Linked DNA regions of Homo sapiens: regions 1, 3 and 4 are each linked to region 2. Evidence: promoter capture Hi-C in human tissues and cell types (Jung and others, 2019). All regions are on one chromosome and are shown on one strand. Each heading gives the region's core, a stretch centred on a gene start or on the middle of the fragment in contact. The rest is flanking DNA. Distances are from core to core; before and after follow the strand shown. Region 1 has its middle 19 kb from the start of HOMER3. Region 2 holds the start of UPF1 (UPF1 RNA helicase and ATPase). Region 3 overlaps KLHL26 (kelch like family member 26). Region 4 overlaps ARMC6 (armadillo repeat containing 6).

The links. The method cuts DNA at HindIII sites, captures the fragments that hold promoters and counts their contacts. A contact is called where the count stands out against the background at its distance.
Region 1: a fragment that was not itself captured here is called in contact with the fragment with the promoter of UPF1 in region 2 in 1 of the 25 tissues and cell types used here (dorsolateral prefrontal cortex).
Region 3: a fragment that was not itself captured here is called in contact with the fragment with the promoter of UPF1 in region 2 in 2 of the 25 tissues and cell types used here (aorta and dorsolateral prefrontal cortex).
Region 4: a contact is called between a fragment that was not itself captured here and the fragment with the promoter of UPF1 in region 2, in 2 of the 25 tissues and cell types used here (dorsolateral prefrontal cortex and lymphoblastoid cells).

The regions. Positions count from the first base shown.
Region 1 is chr19:18,959,118-18,962,006 of GRCh38, forward strand. No RefSeq gene overlaps it. Among named protein-coding and RNA genes, the nearest start is that of HOMER3, 19 kb to the left of the region's middle. The HindIII fragment of the contact is 4,315 bases long and covers 1-2,889 here.
Region 2 is chr19:18,830,565-18,833,545 of GRCh38, forward strand. It overlaps UPF1 (UPF1 RNA helicase and ATPase), which reads left to right and starts at 1,395. Exons shown (of 24, transcript NM_002911.4): 1 at 1,395-1,876. The coding sequence starts at 1,646. RefSeq lists silencers at 1,199-1,458, 1,579-1,678, 1,829-1,918, 1,929-2,008. The HindIII fragment of the contact is 23,837 bases long and covers 1-2,981 here.
Region 3 is chr19:18,666,834-18,669,853 of GRCh38, forward strand. It overlaps KLHL26 (kelch like family member 26), which reads left to right. Exons shown (of 3, transcript NM_018316.3): 3 at 831-3,020. The coding sequence ends at 2,412. Among named protein-coding and RNA genes, the nearest start is that of CRTC1, 15 kb to the right of the region's middle. The HindIII fragment of the contact is 7,470 bases long and covers 1-3,020 here.
Region 4 is chr19:19,038,355-19,041,256 of GRCh38, forward strand. The region is part of intron 2 of ARMC6 (armadillo repeat containing 6); the gene reads left to right. Among named protein-coding and RNA genes, the nearest start is that of ARMC6, 6.2 kb to the left of the region's middle. The HindIII fragment of the contact is 5,677 bases long and covers 1-2,902 here.

The sequences.
Region 1 (2,889 bases), core at 56-2,555, 130 kb after region 2:
CAGGCTAGAGTGCAGGGCACAATCTCGGCTCACTGCAACCTCTGCCTGTTGGGTTCAAGTGATTCTCCTGTCTCAGCCCCCATGAGTAGCTGGGGCTACAGACATGCGCCACCATGCCCTGCTAATTTTTGTATTTTTAGTAGTAACAGGGTTTCACCATGTTGATCAGGCTGGTCTTGAACTCCTGACCTCAAGTGATCCACCTGCCTCGGCCTCTCAAAGGTGCTGGGATTACAAGGGTGAGCCACCGTGCCCAGCCTACACTCTCTTGACAAAGGTTTTTATAAATCCCAATTTGGCTGGGTGCCGTGGCTCATGCTTGTAATCCCAGTACTTTGGGAGGCTGGGGCCAGGGGATCACTTGAGCCCAGGAGATTGAGACCAGTCTGGGGCAACATGGCAAAACCCATCTCTACAAAAAATAAAATAAAATTAGCCAGGCATGGTGGTGCATGCCTGTGGTCCAAGCTTCTTAGGAGGCTGATGTGGGAGGATCGCTTGAGCCCAGGAATTAGAGGCTGCAGTGAGCCATGATTGTGCCACTGTACTCCAGCCTGGGTGACACAGTGAGACCCTGTCTCGGAAAATAAATAAATAAAAGACTGTCTGGGCCAGGTGCCGAGGCTCACGCCTGTAATCCCAGCACTTTGGGAGGCTGAGGCGGGCAGATTGCTTGAGCCTGGTAGTTTGAGACCAGACTGGCCATCATAGTGAAATCCCATCTCTACTAAAAATAAAAAAATTAGTTGGGTGTGGTGGCGCACACCGATAGTCCCAGCTACTTGGGAGACTAAGGTGGGAGAATCACTTGAGCCTGGGATCAAGGCTGCAGTGAGCCGTGATCAACCTCTGCACTCCAGCCTGTGTGACAGAGTGAGGCTCTGTTTCAAAACACCACCAATGACAAGAAAACCCATGACCGTCCGGGCGCGGTGGCTCGTGCCTGTAATCCCAGCACTTTGTGAGGCCGAGGTGGATGGATCCTGAGATCAGGGGTTTGAGACCAGCCTGGCCAACATGGTGAAACCCCATCACCACTAAAGATACAAAAAATTAGTCGGGCGTGGTGGCACGTACCTGAAATCCCAGCTACGTAGGAGGCTGAGGTAGGAGAATCGCTTGAACCCGGGAGGTGGAGGTTGCAGTGAGCCGAGATCGTGCCATTGCACTCTAGTCTGGGCAACAGAGCAAGACTCCGTCTCAAAAAAAAAAAAAAAAAGAAAATCCATGAGCACTCAGACCTGCAGCCAGTGAAGGCAAGGTAGAGATGGGACCCCACCCTTCAGCCTGTGTCTTACATTTTTAGGGGGCTAATTTAATTTAGAATGTCCAGCAGGGAAGTGTGTCTAGCTGTCCAGTGAGGGGAGCCTCAAGCTATCTTCCCACCTCAGCCTCCCAAACCACTGGGATTACAGGCATGAGTCACTGTACCTGGCCTGAAGGTCCCTTTTACAGATAAGAAAACTGAGGTTCAGGGCCGGCTTCTGCCCCTGCCCAACCTGCTGGCTTCTTCCTCAGCCAGCCCTCTCCAACTACTGCCTATTTCTTTTTTTCTTTCTTTCTCTTTTTTTGAGACGGAGTCTCGCTCTGTCAACAAGGCTGGAGTGCAATGGCATGATCTCGGCTTACTGCAACCTCTGCCTCCCAGGTTCAAGTGATTCTCCTGCCTCAGCCTCCTGAGTAGCTGGGATTACAGGCATGCACCACCATGCCCGCATAATTTTTTTTTTTTTTTTTTTTTGAGACGGAGTCTCGCTCTGTCTCCCAAGCTGGAGTGCAGTGGCGCGATCTCGGCTCACTGCAAGCTCCGCCTCCCGGGTTCACGCCATTCTCCTGCCTCAGCCTCCCGAGTAGCTGGGGCTACAGGCGCCCGCCACCACACCGGGCTAATTTTGTTTTTGTATTTTTAGTAGAGACGGGGTTTCACCGTGTTAGCCAGGATGGTCTTGATCTCCTGACCTCGTGATCCGCCCGCCTTGGCCTCCCAAAGTGCTGGGATTACAGGCGTGAGCCACAGCGCCCGGCTCTTTTTTTTTTTTTTTTTGAGACAGAGTCTCACTGTTGCCCAGGCTGGAGTGCAGTTGCGCCATCTCGGCTCACTGCAACCTCCGCCTCCTGAGTTCAAGCGATTCTCCTGCCTTGGCCTCCCTAGTAGGTGGGATTACAGGCGTGCACAACCATGCCCTGTTAATGTTTGTATTTTTAGTAGAGACGGGATTTCACCATGTTGGCCAGGCTGGTCTCGAACTCCTGACCTCAGGTGATCCACCCGCCTCAGCCTCCCAAAGTGTTGGAATTACAAGTGTGAGCCATCATGGCCAGCCACTACTGCCTATTTCTGCATCTCCTGTTCCAGACAAACGGAAGAAACAAGGCCATTTATTGAGCGCCGGTGATATGCTGAGCGCTCAACCTGCATCCTCAAAGATCGTCGATCCAACAGCCTGCTAGGAGTGGATCAATCGAGTCACAGAGGGGGCTCGACCCCCACTCACTGTAGAGAGGGGAAAGCTGAGGTTCAGAGGTGAAACGATACTCCCGGGGTCACACGGCAAGGACATGTAGGGGCAGGTTTTGGGACGAGGCTATTCCTGCATCCACGGTATAGAAAGAAGGCGGGGCGCAAAGGTCAGCCGGTGCTAGGGACCAGACAGCGGCCCATAGGGAGGAGTGGACTTGGGTCCAGGATGCGCCTGATGGGGCGGGGCTATCTTTATTGGGTGGGCAGTGCAGGACCAGGCTGCCCCATCAGGTGGAAGCGGGGCGAAGTGCACCTGTGCAGAGGGTTTGGGGGCGTGGCTAGAGGCTGAGATGCGCCGGGTGGGCTGGGGCTGGGGCTGGGGCTGGGCGGAGCGGGCGGCTCAGCACTGCAGCGGAAGAGCTTTCTTG
Region 2 (2,981 bases), core at 145-2,644:
ACCGCAGCCTCAAACTCCTGAGCTCAAGTGATTCTCTTGCCTCTACCTCCTAAAGTGCTGGGATTTCAGGAAAGAGCCACCTTGCCCAGGCTTCCTATGCCACCTTAATGGCAACAGAAACCCTAGGCTCAGAGAGGTTAAGTCACTTGTATAATTTCACACAGCTGGTAAGTGGTCAGGTCTAGAGTCCACCACAGACCATGTGCTTCCAGTTGTTTTGCTGTATACGTCCACTAAATAATAATCATAGCAAAAATAGTAATGGTATAATAACAGTGGCAGAGGCATCAGGAACAGCAGCAACCATCATTTCCAAGTGCCAGGCCCAGTACGTAAGACTATCCCCATTCATTTATTTTTACTTATTTTTGAGACAGGGTCTCGCTCTGTCACCCAGGCTGGAGTGCAGTGGTGCAATCTCGGCTTACTGCAGCCTCAACTTCCCAGGGTCAAGCGATCCTCCCACCTCAGCCTCCCTAGTAGCTGGGACTACAGGTGCGAACCACCACGCTTAGCTAATTTTTTTTTTTTTTTTTGAGACAGAGTCTCACTCTGTTGCCCAGGCTGGTGTGCAGTGGCACAATCTTGGCTCACTGCAACCTCCGCCTCCTGGGTTCAAGCGATTCTCCTGCCTCAGCCTCCTGAGTAGCTGGGACTACAGGCTCGTGCCACCACGCCTGGCTAATTTTTTGTATTTTTAGTGGAGACGGGGTTTCACCATGTTAGCCAGGATGGTCTCGATCTCCTGACGTCATGATCCACCCGCCTCGGCCTCCCAAAGTGCTGGGATTACAGGCGTGAGCCACCGCGCTCGGCCTAATTTTTATATTTTTTGTAGAGATGGAGTCTCACTCTGTCTCCCAGGCTGGTCTCGAACTCCTGAGTTCAAGCAGTTCTCCCGCCTCAGCCTCTGAGTGTTGGGATTACAGGTGTGACCACCGCGCCGAGCCCCACTCCCTTTTTAAACCAATGCACAGGGAGCATCTACTATGTGCGAGGCACCCTCCATTTTACAGATGGGGAAACTGAGTTCCAAGCAGCTTTTGCCAGGAGTGGGAGCGCACCGTCCCTGCCCAGTCTCTCCAGTTGGGCGTTCCGAGACCACCTATGTAGGGTATTCGGCTAGCGCTCAATTAAACCGAAACACCGTCGCAGCGACCACAGGTGCAGACCACCAAGTCCACACCGCCAGCCGCCCGGGCGTCCCCAATTAGCAGTTGGGGCGGGACCAAGTCCTCGAGCTGCCGCCGCAGCGGCGGTTGAAAGCCCCACCCCCTGCGCGTGCGCGGTGCGCGTCCCGTCTTCCTGCTGGGCACCAGGCGCCCGCGAAGAGCGCGCGCGCTTCCGCCGGCGTCGGGCTCGCGCACGCGCACGGCGACGGCGGCGGTGGCGGCAGTTCCTGCTCTAGGCTGCGAGCGGCTGGCGGCTTCGAGGGGAGCTGAGGCGCGGAGGGGCTCGGCGGCAGCGGCGGCGGCTCGGCACTGTTACCTCTCGGTCCGGCTGGCGCCGGGGCGCGCGGTTTGGTCCTTTCCGGGCGCGCGGGGGCGACAGCGGCAGCGACCCGAGGCCTGCGGCCTAGGCCTCAGCGCGGCGGCGGGCTCGAGTGCAGCGCGGAACCGGCCCGAGGGCCCTACCCGGAGGCACCATGAGCGTGGAGGCGTACGGGCCCAGCTCGCAGACTCTCACTTTCCTGGACACGGAGGAGGCCGAGCTGCTTGGCGCCGACACACAGGGCTCCGAGTTCGAGTTCACCGACTTTACTCTTCCTAGCCAGACGCAGACGCCCCCCGGCGGCCCCGGCGGCCCGGGCGGTGGCGGCGCGGGAGGCCCGGGCGGCGCGGGCGCGGGCGCTGCGGCGGGACAGCTCGACGCGCAGGTGAGCGGCACATGGCGGTGCCGGAAGCCCGGGCCCGGCCTCGGCGCCTGAGACCTGCCCCGAACTCGCCTCGGGCCCGGCCTGTGTTTGGCCGGAGTCCCCCATCGCGGCCGGGCCTGGGGCGATCTGCCCCGGGTCCCCTACTCTGGCTCGGCCTGAGCTTACCTGCCCCAGGTCCTGCAATCTGCCCGGGCCTGGCCTGATCTGCCCCGGGTCCCCCGCTCCGGCCGCGACCTGGCTGAGTTCCTTCGGCCCCCAACTCCTGGGCCGGGCAGACTTGCCTCGAGTCCTCCACTTCGTTCGGGACCGAGCTAACCTGACCCTGTTCCTTTACGCCAGCTGGGTTTGCTCCCCCTCCTGGGCCCGGGCTGACCTGCCTTGTGTCCCACAATCAGTCTGGCCTGGAGTAACCTGCCCCCTGACTTATCTGAGTTCTTCCATTCCATCCGGGCTAGGGTGACCTGCCCTGGTCCCTCTTTCGCAGGTCTCGGTATTCTGCCTCGAGTTCTCCTACGACCTGGGCCGGGTCTTGCTCAGGCCGGAGCTTGAGTGACTTCCCTCAGTCCCTTTCCGGGAGTATCCAGGGTGACCTGCCCTAATCCTGTCTCTGGCCTGGTCCGGGGGTCCTGCCCGGTCTCCCCATTGGTGGGTCTGGCCGCCTGTCCCACCTCCCATCTGTGGTCGCAGCCATCTGGGCACCCCACCTTTCACAGTCACGGAGCGTAGGTTCGACTTTCCCCATGCATAGGGGCGCTGGCCAGCGGAAGGTTGAGGCAGAGAAGAATTTTTGCCTCCCATGGAGGAGCACATATTGGCTGGCTATTAAGATCATTCAGGAAGCAGGTTGTATTTTGTTTTTTCTTGCATCGCCTGTTGCTGAAACCGACCTGTTACATAACTTCACAACTCTTGCCTTGGAAAAGTTGGGTTTGAGTTTTGTTCTTCCAATAAGACAGCAATAATGGCTTTACATAAACGAGTCTGCCACGTTGGAAACTTATTTTTAATGATGTGGATGTTTAGAGAAGGTTACTTAGGTATTTTAAATGGGGGCTTGGGTTGGGAGAAGTATCGGGCATGCATTTCCTGGTCCTGGGCGCTGCTT
Region 3 (3,020 bases), core at 315-2,814, 160 kb before region 2:
GGTGAGGGTTGAACTGTGGTGCATGGCACCTCCAGAGCACTGGCCTTGCAGTTCCTGAGCTCAGGTGTCAAGTGGGGCTGCAGATCTGTCCCCAGAGCCACAGGGTGTGTTCTCATCCTGCACTGCCATACCTGGCCCCTCTAACCGCACCCCCGACAGGCACATTGTGGGTGAGGCTGACCCGGGCCACCGCTCCTGCAGCTCCAACACGATCTAGTCATGAAGGGGCAGGGGCAGGGTCCTCTGCAGAGGGGCCAAGCAGGGAGTTGCTATTTATAGGAAGATGCATGGCTTGGGTGGATTCAAAATCTTTTTTTTTTTTTGCATGTTTTTTTTGTTTGTTTGAGACAGAGTCTCACTCTTATTGTCCAGGCTGCAGTGCAGCATGATCTCGGCTCACTGCAACCTCCAGGTTGGTCTTGAACTCCTGACATCAGGTGATCCACCCACCTCGGCCTCCCAAAGTGCTAGGATTACAGGCGTGAGCCACTGTGCCTGGCCTTTGCATGTTTTTGTTTGTTTGTTTGTTTGTTTGTTTTTGTGACTGAGTCTCACTCTGTCACCCAGGCTGGAGTGCAGTGCCAGTGGTCTCGATCTCCTGATCTCATGATCCACCCGCCTGGGCTTCCCAAAGTGCTGGGATTACAGGCATGAGCCACCGCGCCCGGCCCCTTTGCATGTTTTTAATGAGCATTCCGCCTACTTTCCTCTTGCTGGCTGTGCCCTGTGTTCTGTGTCCCCAGGCTACTGTTCCCCAGGCCAGATCATTCCTGGCTGGCCAAAACACCCCTCAGCCACTGCCAGCCACACGTTGTGTTTCTGCCCTTCAGGGCCATGTTCACCGGCGGCATGCGGGAGGCAAGCCAGGACGTCATCGAGCTGAAGGGCGTGTCGGCCCGTGGCCTGCGGCACATCATCGACTTCGCCTACAGCGCCGAGGTGACACTGGACCTGGACTGCGTGCAGGACGTGCTGGGCGCGGCCGTGTTCTTGCAGATGCTGCCCGTGGTGGAGCTGTGCGAGGAGTTCCTGAAGGCGGCCATGAGCGTGGAGACCTGCCTCAACATCGGCCAGATGGCCACCACCTTCAGCCTGGCCTCGCTGCGAGAGTCGGTGGATGCCTTCACCTTCCGGCACTTCCTGCAGATCGCCGAGGAGGAGGATTTCCTGCGCCTGCCACTGGAGCGCCTGGTCTTCTTCCTGCAGAGCAACCGGCTGCAGAGCTGTGCCGAGATCGACCTGTTCCGCGCGGCCGTCCGCTGGCTGCAGCATGACCCGGCCCGGCGGCCGCGCGCCAGCCACGTGCTCTGCCACATTCGCTTCCCGCTCATGCAGTCGTCCGAGCTGGTGGACAGCGTGCAGACGCTGGACATCATGGTGGAGGACGTGCTGTGCCGCCAGTATCTGCTGGAGGCCTTCAACTACCAGGTGCTGCCCTTCCGGCAGCACGAGATGCAGTCTCCGCGCACCGCCGTGCGCTCGGATGTGCCCTCGCTCGTCACCTTCGGCGGCACGCCCTACACCGACAGCGACCGCTCGGTCAGCAGCAAGGTCTACCAGCTGCCTGAGCCGGGAGCCCGCCACTTCCGCGAGCTCACGGAGATGGAGGTAGGCTGCAGCCACACGTGCGTGGCCGTGCTGGACAATTTTGTGTACGTGGCCGGGGGGCAGCACCTGCAGTACCGCAGCGGCGAGGGCGCAGTGGACGCCTGCTACCGCTACGACCCCCACCTGAATCGCTGGCTGCGCCTGCAGGCCATGCAGGAAAGCCGCATCCAGTTCCAGCTGAACGTGCTGTGCGGCATGGTGTACGCCACGGGCGGCCGCAACCGAGCCGGCAGCCTGGCCTCCGTGGAGCGGTACTGCCCCCGGCGCAATGAGTGGGGCTACGCCTGCTCGCTGAAGCGCCGTACCTGGGGCCATGCTGGGGCCGCCTCAGGGGGCCGCCTCTACATCTCGGGTGGCTACGGGATCTCAGTGGAGGACAAGAAGGCCCTGCACTGCTACGACCCCGTGGCCGACCAGTGGGAGTTCAAGGCGCCCATGAGCGAACCCCGCGTGCTACACGCCATGGTGGGTGCCGGCGGCCGCATCTATGCCCTCGGGGGCCGCATGGACCACGTGGACCGCTGCTTCGACGTGCTGGCTGTGGAGTACTATGTGCCGGAGACGGACCAGTGGACCAGCGTGAGCCCCATGCGGGCCGGCCAGTCAGAGGCCGGCTGCTGCCTGCTGGAGAGGAAGATCTACATCGTCGGGGGCTACAACTGGCGTCTCAACAACGTCACGGGCATCGTACAGGTGTACAACACGGACACCGACGAGTGGGAGCGGGACCTGCACTTCCCGGAGTCCTTCGCAGGCATAGCCTGCGCCCCCGTCCTGCTGCCCCGGGCCGGGACCAGGAGGTAGCCCCCAAGACCCCCGGGACCCTGGCCTGACCGCATGTTGTCTCCAAGTGGGGCTTGGCGAATGCACGTCTGCCTGAGAACCCCAGTGCCCCCCTTCGCCCGGGCTGCCCTTGAGGGGCCTGCTGCGTTGATAAGCCCCCCTCCCAGGGGTCCCTCCCTCCCTCCTTCCCAAAGCAGATCCTGGCTGCGAGTCCATCCGAGGGAGCCTGCCGGCAAAGCGTCTGACATGTGGTGGCAGCAAATTCGTCCCCGGGGTGGTTTCCTCGCCTGGCCCCCGAGTCCCCACGGGCTGGCGGGTGGAATCCCAGGTCTCCAGGGGGTCCCTGTGCAGCTCCATCTCACTTCTCTACTGCCTCCCAGCCCCACGGTTTCAGGCATTCAGATGTGAGCTCATCAACATTGAACCCAAAGTCGGTGGTATATGACTCACCCTCCTTCCAAGTCTCCTGCGCGCGTGTTTTTAAAATAAACTCACCCGAAACGTCCGTAACACACGGACCTCCAGGAGCAGTGAGAGGTGGCTTAGAAGCCCCTGGTTTGGGGTGGGTGGAGGAGGAGGGCACGTGTCTGCCTCCCCTGGGGTGCCCTCCTTCCCCCATCCCAAGCTGC
Region 4 (2,902 bases), core at 107-2,606, 210 kb after region 2:
ACTGGTCCCTTAGGCTAAAAAGGTTGGGACTGCTGAGCTACAGGTTTGAAACAGAATTGCAAAGGGATTTGGTGTTTTTACCAAGAGTTTTATCTTACTTAACTCTATGTCTTGTTCCCACCTGTCAGAGTGGAAGGTACTGCCCAAGGTTAGTGGGTCATCTAAGTGTTGATACCTACCCCTGGTTTCCAGGGTATGCCTATACTGGGTTTTACTTGTTTGTTTATTTATTTATTTTTTGAGACGAAGTCTTGCTCTTGTTGCCCAGGCTGGAGTGCGATGGCGTGATCTTGTCTCACTGCAACCTCCACCTCCCTGGTTCAAGCCATTCTCCTGCCTCAGCCTCCCGAGTAGCTGGGATTACAGGCGCCCCACTAATTTTTGTATATTTAGTAGAGACGGGGTTTCGCCATGTTGGTCTTGAACTCCTGACCTCAGGTGATCTGCCTGCCTTGGCCTCCCAAAGTGCTGGTATTACAGGCATGAGCCACCATGCCTGGCCTTACTTGCTTATTTTTATTTTATAAGGTGGGTTTGTGTGTATACACACACACACACACACACACACACACATTTTTTTTAAGAGATATGGTCTCACTGTGTTGCCGCAGGCTGGTCTCAAACTCCTGTGCTTGAGTGATCCCCCCGCCTTAGCCTCCCAAGTTGCTGAGATTACAGGCACAAGTCATTGCTCAGTTCTTTTTGTTTTTAAACAGATTAGCACTTTAAGAAATTGAGCTATAATTTACATACCATAATATTCACTCATTTGATTTAGTAATTTTTTTTTTTCTTCTGGAGACATGGTCTCCCTCTGTCATCCAGACCGGAGTGCAGTGGCCCAGTCACAGCTCACTGCAGCCTTGAACTCCTGGGCTCAAATGATCCTCCTGCTTCAGCCTCCCGAGTAACTTCAACCACACGCAAATGCCACCACACCTGACTATATTTTTAAATTTTTTTGTAGAGACGGGGCCTTACTATGTTGTCCTTGCTGGTCTCAAACTCCAGACTTGAAACAGTCCTCCCACCTTGGCCTCCTAAAGCACTGGGATCACAGGTGTGAGCCACCATGCCTGGCCTGATGTAGTGATTTTACGTTTTCACAGAGTTGTACAACCATCATCACTATAATTCAAGAACGTTTTCATCACCCAGAAGGAAACCCTATACCCATTAGAAGTTACTCCCCATTCCCTCTCCTCCAGTCCCTGGCAACACCCAGTCTGCTTTTTGTGTCTGTGGATTTGCCTGTTCTGGATATTTCATGTCATTGGAATCGTGCAATATGAGGCTTTTCGTGTCTGGCTTCTTTGACGAGACATCATGTTTTTGAGGTCTATCTCCATTGTAGCATGCTTCAGCACCTCATTCCTTTCTCTGGCTGAGTAATATACCACCATGCGCACAGACCATTTTATCCATTCATCTGTTGGTAGACTCCGTCTCCTTTTCTTTGTTCTTGTGATTTATTTGTTGAAAACTCTGGGTGTTTGTCCTCTAGTTGACATTCTCTTCCCTAGTAGGGATTTTGCAGATCACATCCCCATGGTGTTGGTTAAGGTGTCAGAGCTGTGCTGTGCAATACCATAGTCACTCGTCACACATGGCTATTTACATTAACAAATTAAAATGAAATAAAATTACACACTCAGTTCCTCAGCCACACTGCCACACTTCAGCTGTGTGATAGCCACAGAGGCCAATGGCTTCTGTACTAGGCAGTGCAGATAGAGAACGTTTCATCATAGCAGGAAGTGCCCTGAATGCATGATCAGATTCGGGTTTGAGATTTTGGCACGATGACTTCACAGGTGCATTTTGTTCTTGTTCAGGAGGTAGGTGTTGCTGGTTTCTCTTGATGATGTGAGATCAAGCAGTAGACTGAGTTCCTGTCTACCCCTTGTTGGGCTCCCATCAGTTTTACACCTGATGGTTTTGGATCCTGTGGGATCATTATCTGTTTCTCTCCTGTCACAGCTGATCAGCTGGAATCGGAAGCAGAACTTTTCCTCATCCTCTTTTTATAACCTGGGACTCATTTGTACAAGGGAGGCAGGTTAAGTGCTAGGTTTTTTTTAAAAAAATTGTTACTAATTATTGTAGAGACAGTGTCTCGCTACGTTGGCCAGGCTGGTCTTGAACTCCTGGATTCAAGTGATCCTCCCATCTCAGCCTCCTGAGTAGTAGCTGGGAGTACAAGAGCATGCCACCACTCCCTGCCAAGAGCTGGATTCTTGGCCAGTTTTCAGAAGCCTGAGCTGTATTTGTTTTAGTATTATGAAAGCACAGAGTTTGACTTTTTTTTTTTTTTGCAACATCGTCTGACTGTCAGCCAGGCTGGAGTGCAATGGCATGATCTCGGCTCACTGCAACCTCCGCCTCTGTGCTCAAGTGGTTCTCCTACCTCGGTCTCCCTGATTGCTGGGATTACAGACGTGAGCCACCACACCTGGCCCAGATTTTGATTTTGATATGTACTGGATTTTTTTTTAATGCTCACTTGTCTCATCTGTAGCTACCAGGCATCCCTTAGGGTTTGGAAGCTTCCTTGCTTCCTGGTCTCACAAGACCCCAGCGTTACCTGCCCCATGACCTGCTGGGACTTGGAATCAGCCATTCCTCCAGAAGCCCTGGCTCCTTGTTTTTAAAGATTTTATGTAGAGACAGGGCCTCCCCATGTTGTCCAGGCTAGTGTTGAACTCCTGGCCTCAAGCCATCTTCCTGCCTCAGCCTCCCAAAGTGCTGGGATTACAGGAGTGAGCCACCTAGCCCTGGCCCCAGCTCCTTTTCGTGGGAAATGGTAGAAACCATACATGGTGTTAGAGGTATTCAGTGCTCCTGTGCTGTCATTTCTCCTAGGCATTTTTAGTTGCTATGACTAGAAAATTAGATCTTTGTT